Linked DNA regions of Homo sapiens: region 1 is linked to region 2. The links are contacts of gene promoters, found by promoter capture Hi-C in blood cells and fetal thymus (Javierre and others, 2016). All regions are on one chromosome and are shown on one strand. Each heading gives the region's core, a stretch centred on a gene start or on the middle of the fragment in contact. The rest is flanking DNA. Distances are from core to core; before and after follow the strand shown.

Region 1 (5,790 bases), core at 286-2,785, 190 kb after region 2:
CCTGGGTGACAGAGCAAAACTCCATCATTCATTCATACATACATACATACATACATACATACATACATAAATATATACATACATAAATCTTGTGTCACATGATAAAGGACAAAAAATAAAATGAGATTTTCTTAGTACAAGTGTATACATGCACAAACGTGTTTTTAACGAAGGAGGAAATACTCCTCAAGACAATTACAGTCCTGGTTTCTGCACCTGGTCACATGGTCGTAGCTGGTATTGATGACTACCTTCTTCTACTACCCATTCTGTATTCCCTTTGCCTTCAGCAAGCACCTCAGCAGGTTGTGGTTTTTTCCCGGTGGAGTGACCTAAACCTTCATTCCTAAAGAGTCTGAGCCATTTGTATCCTGTCTGGACTGGGCTGTTGTAGTTTCCCGTTAACTTGAATCACACGGCATGTGATCAAGTTGACACTCAGTATTAACCATCTGTCAGTGTCCATTCAAGTCCTGTGAGAACTGTCTGCCCAAGCACCTGTAGCATCATCGTCCACGTCCTGCTGCCCACTGACCTGTCCGGCTCCACACATGAAGGCAGATGTTTGAGGCCCCCACCAGCTCTCTCCTCAGTGACTAGTTCACATCATCCCTCCAGCCTCAAACCCCAAACTGAGACATATTCCCCAGTCCTCTCTCTCATCTTCCACACACAGTCTGCCTGCCAGTCCTGACCGTTCCCCGCTGTCAGCCACTTCGCATCTCCCACTTCTCCTCCTCTCCATCATTACCACTTTGTTCAAGCCACTGTCCCTGCTCCTGAACAGCTGCCATGGTCTTTTCATTGTCCTTCCTGCTTTCGTCATCCTTTCCAGCCTTCTCTCCACACAGCAGACAGAATGACCTCACGAGCAGTATCTTGTTCAGTCCTCACAACGACCCTGTGAGGTAGGTACTGTTGTCATGCCTGTTCTGCAAAATAGGAAAGTGAAGCACAAAAACATCAGGCGCCGTGTATCCGAGGCCAGAGAGCCACAGCTTCAGTGTGGACCTGAACTCTGAACCTCAGCAGTCTGCCTCTAGGACCCATACTGCTAACCATGATGTCACTTTGCTGTTGCATTTGAGACAGATCCAAACTCCCCGCCACGCCTCTACAGCCCTGTATGTTTTGCCCCCGTCTGCCTTTGACCTCATCTGTCTCTGCTCTCCCCTTACTCTGTGTGGCTTTTCTGTGCTTCTGCCTCAGGGGTTCTCAACCAGGGGCAATGCTGCCATTTGGAAATGAGGTGGGAGTGCTGCTAGTTACTATGGCAGGGTGAGGGGAGCTTTGTAATGACTGTGACTGAGGAGGGGCCACCACTGCATCTCATGTCCTGGGGTCCAGAGATGCTGACCATCTGGTGTAGGGGAGACAGTCCGACACCACAGAGTGTTGGCACCTCTGCATGGCTGGCTTCTCAGCTGAGCGGGCCTCTTCTCCAAAGAACTCCCTTCCCAACACACCCATCTGCAGTGCCCCCCCTCACCATCTGTACTGTGTCACTGCAAACTCCCTTCCCAACACACAGGTCTGCAGTGTCCCCTCACCATCTGTACTGTGTCACTGCAAACTCCCTTCCCAACACACCCGTCTGCAGTGCCCCCTCACCATCTGTACTGTGTCACTGCAAACTCCCTTCCCAACACACAGGTCTGTAGTGTCGCCTCACCATCTGTACTGTGTCACTGCAAACTCCCTTCCCAACACAGAGGTCTGCAGTGTCCCCTCACCATCTGTACTGTGTCACTGCAAACTCCCTTCCCAACACACAGGTCTGTAGTGTCGCCTCACCATCTGTACTGTGTCACTGCAAACTCCCTTCCCAACACAGAGGTCTGCAGTGTCCCCTCACCATCTGTACTGTGTCACTGCAAACTCCCTTCCCAACACAGAGGTCTGCAGTGTCCCCTCACCATCTGTACTGTGTCACTGCAAACTCCCTTCCCAACACACAGGTCTGTAGTGTCGCCTCACCATCTGTACTGTGTCACTGCAAACTCCCTTCCCAACACACCCGTCTGCAGTGCCCCCCTCACCATCGGTACTGTGTCACTGCAACTGGCACATGTTGGTTTGCTCGTTCATCTCCCCAGCGAGCCTGGCATGCGCCTTCCACTGCTGGAGTCCCTGTGCCCAGTAAAGTTCCTGGTGCATAGCAGGTACTCAAAGACTTTGAAAATGAAATAATTCTTTATCCTACCCTAACATGGCTAACATTTTGTCCAAGTGACTGAACATGTGGAATTAGGATTTTGGATCCTTCATGGATCAGAGAAGAGAGGCGGTTTTGCTCTGAAACAGTAAAACTCTGCATGTTTGTAACTCCACAGGAAAACACTGATGATTTATTATTTCTTCTTTGTATATAGATAGAGTATCTCACCCTTTTGGGGAAAAAAAAGTCTTTTTGATGTGTTGAAAATTGTTTTAATCTTAGGTGTCTTCTGTTTATGAAGCAAGATGTACAGGAGAGAGAGATTCTGGAGCAAAGTCAGATGGCTTCCGCGGAAAGATGTGCTCCAGCGCCAGCTCCACCTCGGAAGAGACAGGCTCAGAAGGCGGAGGCGAGTGGGTGGGCCCTAGTGAAGAGGAGCTCTTTTCTCGAACTCATCTCTAAACCTGCAAAATAGTACAAATTATTGTTTAAAAATGATATGTGATGGAAAATTACTCTTCAGTGAGACCTGTTAATCTAAAACAACAACTTAGGTTTCCTCTTCAATTAACTGATTCAGATTGGTAATAATTATCTTTCTCTTCTTGCTTATTTTAGAGTTGAGGACAGCTATCCTGTTAAAGATTTTTTTTCCCAGCTGTTAAATTCTTGGCTATTTGAAATAGACTAGATTGTGTTGTCAAATCAAGAATGGGTGTGCATGTGCTTGTCTTAGAAGTATCACTGCTTTTTGCATCTTAACTGCAGTTAATTTTCCTTCCGACTGCGGTTATATCACTATGACCTTACTAGCATTGCAGTGTCAACAACCACTTCTGCTCTTCAGAGACTTCAGCTTTGGAGCATTTAGGCTTTGTTCTCCAAGAACTGGGATATCCATTCTTACCCTACAGTGGCTTGATGCCTTTCTGAAGGCGAGAGGGAAGCCTGGGTGACTCAGCGGTGGTCTCCATTCAGCAAAATCTCATGTACATTTCCAGTAGGAACCGCAGAGGTGTGCTTTTCAAGACTCACCAAATACTGTGTTTTCTCTCTTAGGATTTCTTTTCCCCTAAAGTATCACGGAAGATACTATGGTTCGTGACTTTCTTGCTAACTGAAGAAGCCAAGGATTTGGGGTGTGGGGTCGTATGCGAGACACAGTGGGGTAAGGGTGCATACCCCACCCCTTACCTGCTCTCATACTGCAGTTACATTTACACCAAAACCCCATGCAGGGTTCTTTGTGGTGAGTGTTCCATACGTGCTAAGGACCTTAGTTACAGATTGTTACTTTCTGGTGACCTATGTTGAATTGAAACCCCCAAAACTTGAAATTGTGAACATTTGACATGCAGTAAAGGCCACCTCATCACCCAGAGAAATCTTTGGCTGCTGCAGCTAGCCGCTTCTTGGCTGTGATGTAGTATAGCTTCGATCTCATTTTGTGTTTGAGAGAATGTTCTGGGCAAGTTCTGTGTGTGGTGGGTTGGGGCGGGTAGAGTCATGAGTTTTCCACATCCCTGTGTGGTGGTTTTGCTGACTGTCGCTCCGTGGGACTGGCTCCCGTTTCTCCTTGGTGAGCCCGGGGAGCCGGCGCATCTTGTGAGTCGCGTCTGTGCATGGCGATCCGCTCCTCCGGCTCTCATGGCATTGTGCCACAGGCAGAGGCCAGGAGGAGCAGTATGTGCACAGCCGAAACATTTTACATTTTTTACATTGTTTTTCTTTTTTAACCAACTCATTGTTTAAAAAACAAAAACAAAAAAAACCTAATCTGTGAAATCAGCGTAGCATGCCTGGAGCATCAGGAATGGCAGAAAAGTCTGATGCGCTCTAGACAGCTTCACCACTCATTTGGGCAGGCAGTAAACACACATATAATTTATTAGCTGGGAGCTGAACTGGCTGTGAAATCTATGATTTGCTTTGAACATTTGGGTTTTGTTGCCTTTTTCTTAATTGATAACACAGAAAAGAAAGTACCATCAAAGACTGTGGAGTCATTGAGGGTCTGTGTGTCCTCACCGAGAGGGACCTGGTGTGCCCGCCGGGTCGATCTTCCCACGTGTTAGGGTTTATTTTTATACAACACATTTTTTGACACTTTAAGGTGGGTGGGTGTGTGTGTGTGTGTGTGTGTGCGCGCGTGCGCGCGCGCATGTGTAAGGTTTTATGTTGCTGTTATTTATTTACGAACTTCAGATACGTTTTTATGTATTTTTCATTCTTCTGGAGCTTCCTAAAAATTGATAAGCATCTGCACTGAAATATAATTTAACAGCAAAAGTAAAAAAGGATTGAAAGTTGTAAATTCCTCATATCACTACAGTGACGATTATTCTAGAAATCGTTGCTTGTGTAGCAAAGACCAAATAAATAGATTTCAGACACAACCTTGAGCACAGTTGATTTTGGACAGCTGCTGTTTATTAGGAAAGGGCTCCAGGTGGCAAAGGTGCACACTTCCTCAGACACAGGTGAGAAGATGCAGCACCTTCCACAGGTGAATGGGACGGATTCGAAGTGAGCAAAGGGATTCACAAATTATGTATTTATTTGTTTTCATAGTTAAGTAGCTGAAGCTCAGAGGCTTTCAGCAACAGAGATGAAAGTGTGGCTTTTTAGTTTTGTGAATGGATGATCACAAAGAAAAAGCATTTTTAAAAAGTTGGCAAACGCTGAAACGCACTGTGGTATGAAGCGCATTGCATTTCCATAGCACTGAAGTACCAGTTTCCATTCCTGGGCTGAGATTGTTTTTCCCGTGGTTGTATTGTTCTGATTTCACGTACACCAGAGTAACTGATTTTTTTTTGTTTGTTTTCTTGTGGAGTTAACACCAAATAAAAATTGTAAAAAACAGTTTGTTGTTTTTATTTCTCATAGCAAAGCTTCTTTTGTAAAGAACTCCAGCTTCCTTTTACTCATGAGCATCCGTGGAAGAGCAAGTGCCCAGGTTACATTTGTTCTAGATGGAGGTCATTTAGCTCTCATTGCAGACACTGCTGAAAACATTGTGCAGCTTTGCTAGGGAAGAAAGTGGTGTGGCCTGCTGAGAAATCAGCGGCTCCTCCCCATCTCACCCCCAGCACACGCAGGGACTACTACCTGAGTCTGCAAAACACATAGCATTTTTGTCCGTGGATGGTACACAAAGCTCAATCTTTTTGTTTTCTTCTGGGGAAAAAATTAAATCTTTATATGTTAATATGATTGATATTCATTGTGCAAAAAAAATCAGTGTGTTTTTAAAGAAGTATAAGGGAAAAGGAAAACTCATATGTCCTTCTGTCACTCTGAGACATACACTGGTAACATCTGTGCAAGCCCCTTTCCAGGATTCTGAATGTACAGTATATATGAATGCATACACAGAGAAATTTACATTCAAGAGTGTACTATACTTGTTCTTCTATAACATCAGAAATAGGTTTTTACTCAGATGTCTTCATGTCGGTAATTATAGAACTACATAATTATTTTTATAGCTGTATTATGTAGATTTAACAGGTTCCTCATTGATAAAACAATGTTTTTTTGGTTGTTTATTCAGTATCTGAATAACGTTTCTATGGACATCTGTAAACATGTATGAGGGGACTTTTAAAAGTTCATGGAAAATGGAATTA
Region 2 (5,751 bases), core at 2,539-5,038:
CCGGGCATGAGTTCCTCCACCCCCCAGCACAGGCCCCGCCCTCCTCCTGGCCTCTCTGCTTCTCCCCTTCCCAGTCACCTCTTCCTTGCCACCTCCTCCATGCACATGGCGCCCTCTGTGGCTGGTACTCCCTGACACCAGGATCCCAGCCTCGTTCATCGTGCATCCCCCAGCCCAGCACAGGGACTGGAGAGCTTGGATCAACTTACAGCTCCCACCTGCTTGGGCCGGTGCTGGATCCTGGGCTACACTCGAGGGGCCGTCTGTCGCATCTGCTGAGCACAGATGTCTGGAGAAGGCCCCATCTGATCCAGATTCCAGAGGACAGAGGAGTCACTTCCAGAGCTGTTCCCATGACACTCAGGACAGGCTGGGCAGGCCAAGCCTCACCTGCCCCACTGCATAGCTTGTGTTTTCCTGAAACCTCCTGATCCCCACCTGGGCCCGACTGACTGGGGATGTCTCCTGCCTGCCCATCTCCGTGGTGATAGGGCGGCCTTGCCGAAACAAGGCCACATCCTGGCCTTCCCGGGGGTTGACTGCTGGGCCCCTTCCTGTCAGCGGTTGCTCTTTACCCTGGTTAACATGTAGAAGCTCGTGGTTCGAGCTCTTCATCTGGCCTCTTTTTTTTTTTTTTTTTTTGAGACAGAGTCTGGCTGTCGCCCAGGATGGAGTGCAGTGGTGCGATCTCAGCTCACTGCAACCTCCACCTCCCAGGCTTAAACGATTCTCCTGCCTCAGCCTCCCGAGTAGCTGGGATTACAGGCACGCGCCACCATGCCTGGCTAATTTTTGTACTTTTAGTAGAGACAGGGTTTTGCATGTTGGCCAGGCTGGTCTCGAACTCCTGATCTGAAGTGATCCACCTGCCTTGGCCTCCCAAAGTGCTGGGATTACAGGCGTGAGCCACTCCCAGCTGCCTCAAGGGCAACTCCCCGCATGGCAATAATCACGACCCCTACAGCAACATTCCTGAATAAAGTCAGAATAATTTTCTCTTTAACTGGTCCTCTGACTCAGAGGTCTGTGTTGAACCCTTTCTTGGAAAATGCCACCTCCCTCCTGAGAAGAGTCTCCAAGGGGGCTTGTCCTCAGAGTTACCCAGGTGAGCTACTCCAGCAGGGGCAGCCCTGGTGGTTTGGTGACACTCCAGTGGCCTGAACGGGTGGGGGAGTGCAGCAGTTTCCACCCGATGGATGTCCTGATCCTTCCTCCCACAGCGGTGAAAGATTAAAGTGAATAGTCGGGCATGGTGGAGCGCCCCTGTAGTCCCAGCTACTGGAGAGGCTGAGGTGAGAGGATCACTTAAGCCCAGGAGTTGGAGGCTATAGTGAGCTGTGATTGAGCCACTGCACTCCACCCTGGGTGAGAAAGCAAGACACTGTCTCTAAAAGTAAATAAATGGGGCCAGGCACGGTGGCTCATGCCTGTAATTCCAGCACTTTGGGAGGCCGAGGTGGGCAGATCACTTGAGGTTAGGAGTTCAAGACCAGCCTGGCCAACATGGTAAAACCCCATCTTTACTAAAAATACAAAAATTAGCTAGACAAGGTGGTGCATGCCTATAATCCCAGCTACTCAGGAGGCTGAAGCAGGAGAATCACTTGAACCAGGAGGCAGGGGTTGCAGTGAGCCAAGATCGTGCCACTGCACTCCAGCCTGGGTGATAGAGCGAGACTCCGTCTCAAAAAATAAATAAAAATAAATAAATAAATAAAAATTTTAAAACAAAGTGATGACCGGACTGGCCAACATGGTGAAACCCCCAAAAAATTAGCCTGGTGTGGTGGTACATGCCTGTAGTCCCAGCTACTCGGGAGGCTGAGGCTGGAGAATCACTTGAAACCGGGAAGTGGAAGTTGCAGTGAGCCGAGATCACACCACTGCACTCCAGCCTGGGCAACAGAGTGAGACTCCATCGCAAACAAACAAACAAACAAACAAAAAATATATGTGTGTGTATATCTATATATATATGTGTGTGTATATACATATGTGTGTGTGTATATATGTGTGTGTGTATATATGTGTGTATACATATATGTGTATATATGTGTATATATATGTGTGTGTGTGTGTGTGTATATATATATCTATATAACGCAGTGAATGCCCTTCCTGAGGAGCACTGCCTCTGGGGTAGGGAGCCTCCTTCTCTCTCCCACTTCTCTGGCTGGGGTGGTATGATGGTGGCCTGTGCTGTGCGACCTTATCCCAAGAGGGAACTGCCCAGCTCAGGAGTGAGCAGAATGGACCTGTCCCTGCTCCCCAAGGGGTCACCAGTGGGGCCAGTCTGAGCCTCCACTGCAGGACACCTGGGCAGAGGCAGTGTGTTCTGAGAAAGCCGGCTCTTGTGAGACCTGCTGCTGCCATCGTGCACCAAGGTTTTTCTATGTTGAGCCACAGCCCCGTGGGGAGAGTCTCGGCCCATGTGCTGGTGGAGGCTGTGTTGGGAGAGGTTAGGGAACTTGCTGGAGGCTGACACTCTGGAAGATCTCTGCTGAGAGAGAGGCCTTTGAGTGTGGGCCTACTTTGACCGGGGCAGGATGTGAACACAGGCCCCTACCTCCATGCTCTCCAGGACTCGCTCAGCCTCCCAAGCACAGACCCTCTGAGTACCTCCGCTATAGAGACGGGGAGGGGTGTGACTGTCCCTGACTCTGCCCAGAGTCCCAGGAGCCTTTGTGCCGTCTAAGCCCTGTGGGTGATTTGGGTTTGGTAAGTGCCGGGGCTCAAAAAACAACACCCCAACGTGGAAGCCTCAGAAACAAAAGTTTCTCTGTCCTGCTCCCACCCTCCTGTCTCCAGCTCCTCCTCCTCTGAGAGGCTTCCCCAAACCCTGCCATAAAACCCAGAAATATGACTCCAGTTCTCCACTCCCTCCCCTTTCTGTGTAGAAACCAGCCTAAAGAAACCCTCTGGCCTGCTTTATTTGACTGTAGGTCATAAGAGCTCCATTCCAGAAAGAGTCCTGCCCCACACCTAGAAGGAAGGAGAGCTGCTCAGAGAGGCCCCAGGGAATCTGACTCAACAGGCCCTACCAGGCTCTCCTCTTGGTCTGTGAGCATCCAGCCTTACTTTTGTATCCAATCATATTTCCATACTTCGCTGAACTGTGTTTATGGATAGTTTCCACCAGATCTTTGGATCTTCATCTTGAAGGCTGCCGTGCCACATAAGCTATGATCAAATACATCTGTTATGCTCTTCTCCTATTCATCTGCCTTCTGCCCGTTGATTTTCAGCAAACTCCCAGAGGATGAAGGGGAGTTTTCTGTTTGGCCCCACAGGGGAGGAGCGAGCGAGATTGACGTGGAAGCTGGGCCTCTGAAGGACACAGAGTGCTCTAAGAAAGGGACGATGGGGCAGATCCATGTTCACAAACACGCCCATGTGAATTCACTCTCAGATGTCTCCTCGTGTCAGCACGCTGGGTGCCAGCACGCTCTGATATTGACACAAAGGGCCACGGAGTCACCACTCACTCCACACACACTCACCCCGTGCCCACTTACCCAGGGAGGGCCAGGAATGAGGATGCCACTGTGGCTCAGTGATGGCGCCGAGACACAGGTGAACACTGTAAAATGTGGATGCCTGGAGGCAGCCCACACCCTGGGCCTTGGCTGGGGGAAAGGTTCCAGAAACGTCATCACAACGATGCATTTCATCAGAACTGAGCACATGAATGGGGAGGGGCAGGACTTCCTGAATGTCCCAACCCCACTGTCCCACCCTCTGTGTCAATATGAGGCTGCCTTATAAAGCACCAAGAGGCTGCCAGTGGGACATTTTCTCGGCCCTGCCAGCCCCCAGGAGGAAGGTGGGTCTGAATCTAGCACCATGACGGAACTAGAGACAGCCATGGGCATGATCATAGACGTCTTTTCCCGATATTCGGGCAGCGAGGGCAGCACGCAGACCCTGACCAAGGGGGAGCTCAAGGTGCTGATGGAGAAGGAGCTACCAGGCTTCCTGCAGGTGAGCCAGGCCGGCAGTGCTGGACTCAGCGGGGGCTGGGGAAGAAGGGGAAGGCGTGGCAGGCAGAGGGCTGAGAGCTGCGGTGGGGTCGGCGGTCAAGGGGCTCAGAGGCAAGAGGGACAGATCCTGAAATGCCCTGGAAGCCCAGCCAAGGAACGGACCCACCCTGGCATAAAGGCAGGGGAGGCGGGAGCATCTGAGCAGGGAGAGGGTGTGGTCAGCTTGATCCTTGAAACATGGGGTTGACCCCAGTGTATTTGTGACAGGCCTGGTGGGAGAGTGGGACTCAAACCTGTGCAGTGGGGGCAGGGGCGGAATGCAATCCAGGGCTGCCATTTGCAAGTTTGCCAAGCTTGCCAAGCCCTTGAGCCCTCGGGGCTGTCCTCCAAGGCTGCCGGCCATAAACGCCCCAGCTCTGCCTCCCACTTGCCCGCTTTCCCTGCTCCCATTCCCAGGCCCCTTGTTGCCTGGTATTAGTGGGTCTGGCAGGAAGGACGGGAGGAGGCTCCATCCTGGCACCTGTCTGCGCAGAGCTGTGGACCTCCCTTGGGCTCCCTGCCAGGGAGGAGCCACCGGCCTGAGCCTCACAGAAGGCCCCTCAGGGCGGCCAGGACCAGCTTCCTTCCGCCCGGGGCAGCCTCCGGCTGGGCTGAACAGAAGCCGTACCCTCTCCATTTCCCCTTCCCTTTGACCCCTGTCCTCTCCTTCTTTCTCACTCCCCCACTTTCTTCCTTCCTTCCCCTCCCCTTCGGGCCCCACCAGACTCTGCCTACCTGCTAAGGGGCTAACCCACATAGATGCTGATAATCAAAAATGAAAGCCTGAAATTTTCAGCCCTAGAATCACTTCAAAGACATGAAACACTTCAGAATATTGCTTCTATTTTCTTTTCTTTTCTTTTTTTTTTTTTTTGAGACAAGATGTCACTCTGTCACCCAGGCTGGAGTGCAGTGGCAGGATCACGGCTCACTGCAGCCTCGACCTCCCTGGGCTCAGGTGATCCTCCCACCTCAGCCTACCGAGTAGCTGGGACTACAGGTGCATGTCACCATACCCGGTTAATTTTTGTATTTTTTTTAGAGACAAGGTCTCACCATGTTGCCCAGGCTGGTCTCAAACTCCTGTGCTCAGGCAATGCGTCAGCCTCGACATCTCAAAGTGCTGTGATTACAGGCGTGAGCCCCGACACCTGGCCTAGTTCTATTTTCTAAATGTGAATTCTGTAAAGATATCTTTTAAAAATAAAGTTCTGTTTTTGGTAGAAAATGTAAAAATAGATAAATATGGAGGGAAGAAATCCCCCCTGGAATACAGACGCTTCCTCTCCCTTCCAGCCTTTTCCCCATATGAACATTGCTGTGAGTGAGATTTACATGCAATGTAATTTCTTTTTGAGCTTAACATTACAACATAAATTCTCAAACTCTGATGTTCATTAAACACCCCAGCCCCATCCTGGGAACTTGGGCTTGGGGCTCGGGGTGTTCTGATAATGATCAAAGTATGAGAATTGAACCCATGAGGACTTTGATCCAAGATACTGGGGTGTGGGGAGGGGCAGGCACAGGTGTCCTGGGAACACACTTTGAGAAGCAATGGCAAAGCTGGGGGTCCAGCTAATGTGTTACATTAGAATCACCTCGGGGAGGCCCTGGGTGCCCTTCTCAGCCCTCCCTCCGGAGGCTGCTGAAGCCCAGCAAAGCCGGAGTCAGAGAACAATGTCCGCCTGAGGGCAGGGCTGGGCTGGGCTGGCCTTCTGGCCCTATCTGC

What was found. Contacts are between HindIII fragments. The CHiCAGO score rates a contact against its expected background, and 5 or more counts as called.
Region 1: a fragment that was not itself captured here is called in contact with the fragment with the promoter of S100P in region 2 in 8 of 17 cell types (naive CD8 T cells, total CD4 T cells, total CD8 T cells and 5 more); the score reaches 12.2 in naive CD8 T cells.

What each region holds. Positions count from the first base shown.
Region 1 is chr4:6,878,347-6,884,136 of GRCh38, forward strand. KIAA0232 reads left to right here. Exons shown (of 10, transcript NM_014743.3): 10 at 2,441-5,790. The coding sequence ends at 2,620. Among named protein-coding and RNA genes, the nearest start is that of TBC1D14, 29 kb to the right of the region's middle. The HindIII fragment of the contact is 7,029 bases long and covers 1-5,050 here.
Region 2 is chr4:6,690,090-6,695,840 of GRCh38, forward strand. It overlaps S100P (S100 calcium binding protein P), which reads left to right and starts at 3,789. Exons shown (of 2, transcript NM_005980.3): 1 at 3,789-3,981. The coding sequence starts at 3,844. It overlaps LINC02481 (long intergenic non-protein coding RNA 2481), which reads right to left and starts at 430. Exons shown (of 3, transcript NR_147207.1): 1 at 210-430. RefSeq lists enhancers at 2,473-3,010, 3,320-4,056, 4,057-4,792. The HindIII fragment of the contact is 13,149 bases long and covers 1-4,331 here.